Regions from separate parts of the Homo sapiens genome. Here region 1 is linked to region 2. The links are contacts of gene promoters, found by promoter capture Hi-C in blood cells and fetal thymus (Javierre and others, 2016). All regions are on one chromosome and are shown on one strand. The core of a region is centred on a gene start or on the middle of the fragment in contact, and the rest is flanking DNA. Distances in the headings are between cores, read along the strand shown.

Region 1 (4,011 bases), core at 650-3,149, 390 kb before region 2:
GAACGTCTGGGCCCTAGTGCTAAGTTGGGTGACTGTTCGGTGGTTGTCTCGGGGGGTTGCAGGAAGATCCTGTTTCCTTGGCGTAGAAGGAGAGGTTGACCCCGAAGAGTTAAGATTCTCGAAGCACACTATTTATCCGTGGCCCTCCTCCTCCTTCGCGGGGTAGCTTGGGGCAAGTCATCTATTCTCTCTAGATCTGTGTTCTGCCTAAAAATTAATGAATGGGACAAAATGGTCTCTACAGTCCCTTGTTTATCCTGGCCCTGCAAATCCAGGATCGCTGCCGTTGTATCTCAGTCTGATGTCGGTGGTCTTGCGCTGGCCGGTGTTCTGAAACTTTGTCGGCAGTAACATGCACTCCAGTCAGTCTCTTCAGTCCAGGACACCATCGCCGGGGAAACTGAGGCATAAGAAAAATAAAAATGAGCATTGTCCATCCACAAATATGTATTGTGCTCCCGTTGTGTATCTGGCACTGCCCTGGTGCTGGGTCCCCTATGAGAAACAGGCATGGTCCTTGTGCCCCTAGTTATAAACTATGTCACTTCCATCAGACTCTGAGATCCCCAGGGAGGAGCTGTACTCTCATCAAGCTGCTCTCATCAGCAGACAGGAAGGAGACAGACTTGTAGGCCTGCATGCTCCTGTGCTCCTCTTGAACTCCCAGCTCAGCCACTGGCTGCCTTTTACCCACAGATCTGAAAGGAGCCAGGGCGGACAGGCTCCAGCAGTACCTCTTTTCTTGAGGAAGCCACCTTCTCCTGGCTGTCCAACCCTGAAAGGACCTTGGAAGTTTGGGGGAGTCCCTCTTGGCACTCTGATTTATCCAGAATGCACCTAATCACCCTCTACACATGCACACCCGCCCCCCCCCCCCCCCCGACACACACTCCTCCAGCCTGATACCCTGCTGGGGTTCTTTTGCAGAGTTTTGTCTTGAGGTCATCAGAGAGGTCGTGCTCCATGGGGCATTGAAGCACCACAGAGAAAAACCCCTGCAAGGCCAGGAAAGCATCTGAGAGGCATCTGAAGTCAGAAGGCCTGTGCCGGAATCCTAGCTGTTTCTGGCAGTGTGGTCTGGGTAATTTAACTTCTACCAGCACCATGTGTATAAATGAACATCATCACAGCACATACCTCACAGATTGCTGAAAGGATTAAATGAAATGATGGATATAACTCACTTGCAGCATGCCTGGCAGAGACATATAGTAAATGGGCAAGAATTGGGAGCTACTGTTATTATTGTGTTATTGTGATTATATTCAGCAGGAAGGAGGCCTCCCAGGCTAGGCGCCAGTCCTTGATGAGAAGGTGCCCACTTTATGTCCTCTCCTGTTTCTAACTCTCCTCTTCTGCCTTCTGTGGTCCCAGCTGAGTGGCTGTACCTCAGCAATATCCAGTTTCCTGCCTCAGAACATGAAGCCCAGATATACAAGCTGAAGGAGGGTGCCACATTTGAGAGGCAAGGGAAGATCAGGCGGGGACCCTGTGCTTCAGAGCTTTGGTCACATCCGCAAGGAGCACAGCAGGCCCTACCAGATAAACAGACAAAATCAGGAGGGCTCCAAGGTGGGACAGAGAAGGAAGATTGTTAAAAATTGAATCTGCTAGACTGGGCGTGGTGGCTCACACCTGTAATCCCAGCACTTTGGGAGGCCGAGGCAGGCGGATCACGTGAAGCCAGGAGTTCGAGACGAGCCTGGCCAACATGGCAAAACCCCATCTGTACTAAAAATACAAAAAATTAGCCAGGCGTGTGGTGCGAGCCTGTAGTCCCAGCTACTCGGGAGGCTGAAGCACAGAATTGCTTGAACCCGGGAGGTGGAGGTTGCAGTGAGCTGAGATCATACCACTGCAGTCTATCCTGGGCAACAGAGCAAGACTCTGTATATTTTAAAAAAAAAGGCAAAAATTGAATCTGCTGTGCCCAACCAAGCCATCAGCTGATCAGCTGTGGGGTCCTGCCCTGAATCATTTACTCCTCACCCTATCTCTGGGACCATCAGGGCAGGCAGGCAGCAGCAGATGTTTTCCAAGCTCTACTGCTCCCAGGCCAGCATGACATCTGCAGTGACCATTTTAACAGGCTGGACACCCTCGTGTCCCCCTACCACTTATCCTTGGCCCACTTGCCACTTGTGCCTTACCCAGTGGGGAGGGAGTGGCAAGGCCTTGGCTCTGGGTTCCACAGGTAGAGTTTTGCAGAGGAGTCCAGTGAACTCATTCTTTACAAAACCTACCCAGGCCTGCTTTCAGCCACCCCTCCTGCTAAGATTATATGTAATATATAATATTATATATAATTTTTTATAGAGACAGGGTCTTCCTCTGTCACCCAGGCTGGAGTACAGTGGCATGAACACAGCTCACTACAGCTGCAAACCCCTGGGCTCAAATGATCCTCCTATCTCAGCTTCTTGAGTAGCTAGGACTACAGGCATGCACCACCAGGCCTAGCTTTTTTTTTTTTTTTTTTTTTTCTGTAGAGATAAGGTCTCACTGTCTTGCTCAGGCTGGTCTGGAACTCCTGGCCAAGCCATCCTCCTGCCTTGTCCTCCCAAAAATGCTGGTATTACAGACATGAGCCACCGTGCCTGGCCAAGAGACTATATATTTTGAGCAGCTGCTGGAAAGCGGGGACTAAGTTCTGGTCTGAGGAGAACTTCCTGGGCGTCCAGGAAAGAAATATCTGACATTGTTGGTGCACAGTGAGTATAGTCCTCACTGGTCACCCAGAGGACAGGGTGTGGCTCCCTCCACAGTGTAGCTCCCTAGCCCCCAAAAGCTGGACCTGGGCTCTCCCCAGTCACCAGAGATCCCTCTCCTTCGTCCCCAACAAAGTGTTTGGCTGGCTGCAGCAACTGTGCAGACCCTGACTAGTGGACATTCCTAAGTACCAGGGGCTCGCCTTGTGTCCCGCCAGGCTGGTCCAGAAGGCTGTTGCGGGCAGGTGGGATAAGAAATTCAGGAAGCTGAAACAGCCAGAAGGTGGAACCTGGCCGGCTCGGGGGAACTGCCTGTGGAATGGCCCAGCGCTGAATGAGTGGAACAGTGGGTGGGCCTTGAAAGCGAACTCAGGAGATGGGGCGTTGTGTATAGGCAAGTCGCTAACCGGGAGCCCCGCGCCTCATTCCGACTGGATCAGGGGGCCCCGCCTGTCCACGGTCCCCATGCGCGGTGCGCTCCCCCTCCTAGGGCCGTAATTGCCGCAGCCATCCCTACGCGTCTCCAGCCCCCGTCGTCTTTGTCCATTCGGTTCCGAGGCCGCGCTTGGACTGGGGCGCCCACGACTGACCCCGGAGGCACAGCGAACGGGGCAGCTGCAGGGACTCCCTGTCCTGCAGGCGACTGGGCTCCCGCGAGGCAGCAGGTGCCGAGGACTAGCAGCAGATCTGGTGTGCAGAACCCTGGATTCGAGTCCCGGCTTCAGAGACCCTCGGCTGTGTGACGTGGAGGCGTCGGCCGCCCTCTGAGAGCCTTCGTGGATGACAGCTGATGCTTGGGCCTACCTTCCTCGGCTGCTGAGAGGCTCAGAAGGGACCGCGTGTAAAACGCCTTGGAATCTTAAATCTACTTAATTCCATTTACCTGCTTCCCAGAAACGGTCCATGGCTTCCGTCCCGGTCATAGCGCTGCGCAGCGGGACCGTTCTGCCCCGCTGCCCTCGAACAGCCCGTCCGCGCTCCATTGCCCCTCCAGGTGCCGTTATTTTGCCTTTTAACCTGGGGCGGGAGGTTTTAGACGAGGCTGCAAGTCTGGGCCAGCGGGGACCTGAGGGTCCCTTGCAACCAGCACCCGCGACGGTGTCTACACTGGAATTCCAAGGAAAAGAGGGCTCCAGGGGCGCGACCAAGGTTTGGTCTTCTGCTGAGCGCTGCTGGATGAATCGCCAGCCTTCGCCCGCGGCCCCCTCCTCCTCATCCCTGACCCCAACTCGACAAGATCCCCCGAGCGCAGGCCCAAACTCCGCACAGCTTGTGGGCCGTGAGGTCCGGGTCTCGAAGCTCG
Region 2 (4,196 bases), core at 1,537-4,036:
CTGCACTCCAGCCTGGGCAACAGAGCAAGATCCTGTCTCCACAAAAAAAGTTTCTTATATGTATATGCTAATAGTGTTTAAAAGGAAGAAAAGTCAGGTGCGGTGGCATATGCCTGTAGTCTCAGCTACTCAGTAGGCTGAGGCAGGAGGATAGCTTGAGCCCAGGAGTTCAAGACCAGCTTGGGCAAAACAGCGAGACCCCATCTCTATTTTTTTTAAATTTTAATAAAAAGAATAATTTCTTCTTACATCTCCATTAAAGATTAGAATAGAGTCCTGGGACTGACTTTCACTCCACTTCCATAGAAGCTAATAAAAAAATTAGTGTTATAATATCTTTCATTAAAATAATCTACTATCTTAAGATAGATATCTAAGTAAAAGAGCAAGGAACTCAGGAACTAAATATCAGGTTTGAGACCTTAATTAAATTACTTAACTTTCTCACCAATAAAGCAAGGTTATACTGTACTCTACTTCACAGTTTAATTCTGAAGATTAAACAAAATAACACATAAAAGCACAACATAGTTACAGGCACATGTTTAACACTTCCCTCATCTTAGCACAGTGCCATACTCCCAATAAGCATACAACTATTAAGAAGTAAAAGTGTACCAAAAAGGAGCAATATTAAAACTGTGTGAACTATGTGAAACAGAAATTCTAACAAAAGCACCATCTATTCATACTAATAATCTTCAAATGAAAAGCTTCAATTAGAAGTGAAAGTTACTAAAAGATATTCAAGTATTTTGAACGAATTCAACTAGTAAATACACTTGGATTACATTCCCAATGATTTCCTCTGAGAGATTACATATGAGGTACAAGATTACACATGATTTAATAAAATGGACAGAGAGCACACACAAAGCTGCAGTTTCCCAGGCTGAGAAAGACAAATCTAATTTGTCCTTCCTGGGGAGGAATGTATCTTAAATGAACAAAATTTCCTTAGAATACACAAAAGTAAATCAATGTATCAAAGGGATTAGGAAAAAAGGGAGCTTTTTCTCGAAATCCAAAATAATAATACGCATGACCTAAATGAATCTTCTCCAAATATTTAGGGGGGAAACCCCACTTTAATTGTTAGAATTGGTGCAAAGCAGCTGGATTTAGTAGAACGCAGCCCATCAACTGCTAATTCTGAAAAAAAAAAAAAAAAAAAAAAAAAAATCTAGGGGTGGAGAAAGCAGGCAATCTTCCCAATAAAACAACTGCCACAAAACACTGTACATACGTAAGAACATAAACATCTGTTAAAATATCAGTTTACACTGTTCCAGCCAACTTACAGATCAAGAGGAAGTATTTAAGGTCTAAAAAATAAATTACATTCTACTTTTAGTCACATTTTGCATGGGTGGCTACTGGACACTAGGAGTTATCGACGCGGATTCAAGACAAGGAAGACTGAATAATAAATCCAGTGTTCACATTCAAATGTGGGGGAGAGAAAAGGGCAGGCTCTGAGTCCATAAAGTTCTCCACACTCTGAAAACACTGCAAAAATAGTCCACATCTAAGGACACTTACCCTTGAAACTCCTTGGAGAGTGGCTTGGGAGACTTGCTGTTCAGATTTTTGAGGGGGAGTGATTTAAGAATGCTGCAAGATTGCAACTTTCAAACACAGGAACATAATCTAAAGTGTTTTTTTCTTTCAGTAAAGATCTCTCCCTGTCCTCTTCAAACAGTTGATCAGCACTCCCATTTTCACAAAATCCCTAATTCAAGTATAGAGCCCCTCCTCTCCCACAAAAAAATCAAAGCTTTAAAGAATATGCAAATAAAACACACAGATTATTTCCAATAATCCCTAACTCCTTCCCAATTGGGAAAAGAAAGGAGAAACGAAGGAACACGAAGCAAAAACACCAAAACACTCGGGGAAGGAAGGCGGCGAGATGAGAAAGTAGGAATGGGTGGGGGGAGGAGCACGGAAAAAAGTCCAGCTGATGCTGACACTTAATTGGAAGGAGAGGATGGAAAATATCCTGAAGATACGGGCTAGAAGGAAAGGACTAGGTGGGACAGGGGCGCGATAGAGTAAGTCCACGCAAAAGGCCTACCCAAGAGGGCCACTGTGTAGAAGGGAACACCAACAGGGAGCAAGACTCCCCAAGATTACTTCAAGGCCCCAAAGCTTAAGAGACAGGGCATAGGGAGATGGGGTGCTTCTCCACTGGCAATGCAGACACCGCACCAGACGTTTCGGGAGGCAAGTCTGCCGGAAGGGGTGAGGGGTTAACTGCGGGGGTTCGCAGACGTGGAAGGGGGTGCGGCCCCCGGGGTTGCTGGAGGAGAGCAGAGAGGAGGCCCACGGCGCATACCTTGTAGTAAACATCAAACTGGATGTTCTCGGGCAAGGAGCGGATGTCTCGGCGGGAGCGGATGTAGTTGTCCACGACAGCGGAGATGGCGGTGTTATAGAGAGTCTCTGGGATCCACTCTAGTTCCACGGCCGCCATCTTCCTTCCCTCCTCCTCCGCCTCCTCCGCCTCCTCCTCCCGAAGGCCCCCACCTCCCTCCGTAGCGAACCCCTCTGCGGCCCCGGAGGATTCGGAGGGGCGGTGGCAGCCACGCGGGCGCACGGCAGAAGGCACGGCCGCCCTGCCTCCTCCGGGGGCAAACTGAGGGACGGCGGCAGCGGACGCAGGCCCGAGTAAAAAGTGGGACAGAAAACAGCGGCCAGCCAGGCCAAAAGCGTCACAATCCCGGTTCGAGAGGAACCCGGGTTCCGTCCCAGCGCTGATCTCTGCAGGGGCGGGGCTGCGTGTGCGGCGTCATGACGTAAGCGCACGCCGGCGCGCCGGAGGGGAGGAATGCGGCAGGCGGAAAACTTAGGAAGAGCTGGATGCCTCCCACGGAGAGCGTCCCTTCCAAGCGGCCCCGGAGTGGAGTGGAGTGGAGTGGATAGGGGTAGACTTTTCACACGGGGACAAATTATTACAGGATATCTGCGCCCCCTGTTCCGAGTCACTCGGGGCCATCGGTTACTTCAGCAGGTTCTCTGCATCACGGACCCTTTTGAGGCTCAGGTAAAAGTTTGGATCCTCTCCCCACAAACGAGCAAAATTATCTGTACATTGAAAATTATGCATTGAGAAAATTCACATTACTCTAGAAACCCTTAGACTGCAGTTCCTAACCCAAGTTAAGAACCCGCGGTCCAGGAACTAGGGGTAACGATAGAAGAGAGACTTGTTTTTCTTTGTATAACCATTTGCACCGTTGTAACTTTTTGACCATGTTTCTTTATCCAAATGAAATTTCCGAAAAAAGAAAACTCCTGCCCCAGAACTTCGTAGGAAAACTAGCTTGATTATGGAATTACAAATAATAGTAAGAGAAAAAAGGCTAAGTGGTGGCCGTGATAGGACTTAATGGTATTTCAATTCCCAGAGTTACAGTGGCGGCTTCAAGGGATTGTTGAATAATTGGGAGTACTTGTTTCAGCTTCTTTCCTTCCTCAGCCTGAACATCTGCTGTTTATGTAACTTAATTTCCTAAGTCTGCGATTTCAAGAATTTGATGCAACATCTTTCTGTTCTAGGAATTTACCATGGAAATTATTGGCCATAATTGTTGGTGACACTATCAAACTCATAGTCACTCTATAACGATGTAAGTCCAGAAAACAGCCATAATAATAATGTCCTGATTGATATTTAGAGCTAAAAGAAGTGGAAAGAGTTATTTCAATTTACCCTTCACCTGGTACTTCAGTGTTAAGTGGTTAAATAATTCCACAAAAAATAAACACTCTTAATCTTCTTCAGTCTATATAAATTCTTACTCTATACTGTGAACCTAGGAAAGCTGTGGATGGCCTCAAGATCAGATTGCCAGTTTAGCAAGTAAAAAACTACAAGGCTGGGCGCGGTGGCTCACACCTGTAATCTCAGCACTTGGGAGGCCGAGGCGGGTGGATCACGAGGTCAGGAGATCGAGACCATCCTGGCTAACACGGTGAAACCCCGTCTTTACTAAAAATACAAAAAATTAGCCCGTGGTGGCGGGCGCCTGTAGTCCCAGCTACTCGGGAGGCTGAGGCAGGAGAATGGCGTGAACCCGGGAGGCGGAGCTTGCAGTGAGCCAGGATCGCGCCACTGCACTCCAGCCTGGGCAACAGAGCGAGACTCCGTCTCAAAAAAAAGAAAAAAAAAATTACAAGTGCCCAGTCACATC

The links. The method cuts DNA at HindIII sites, captures the fragments that hold promoters and counts their contacts. A CHiCAGO score of 5 or more calls a contact.
Region 1: a fragment that was not itself captured here is called in contact with the fragment with the promoter of APPBP2 in region 2 in 2 of 17 cell types (fetal thymus and erythroblasts); the score reaches 6.0 in fetal thymus.

Annotation. Positions count from the first base shown.
Region 1 is chr17:60,135,828-60,139,838 of GRCh38, forward strand. No RefSeq gene overlaps it. Among named protein-coding and RNA genes, the nearest start is that of CA4, 12 kb to the right of the region's middle. RefSeq lists an enhancer at 3,229-3,762. The HindIII fragment of the contact is 5,598 bases long and covers 1-4,011 here.
Region 2 is chr17:60,523,456-60,527,651 of GRCh38, forward strand. It overlaps APPBP2 (amyloid beta precursor protein binding protein 2), which reads right to left and starts at 2,787. Exons shown (of 13, transcript NM_006380.5): 1 at 2,339-2,787. The coding sequence starts at 2,476. RefSeq lists enhancers at 1,698-2,406, 2,127-2,396 and a silencer at 2,477-2,616. The HindIII fragment of the contact is 8,801 bases long and covers 2,150-4,196 here.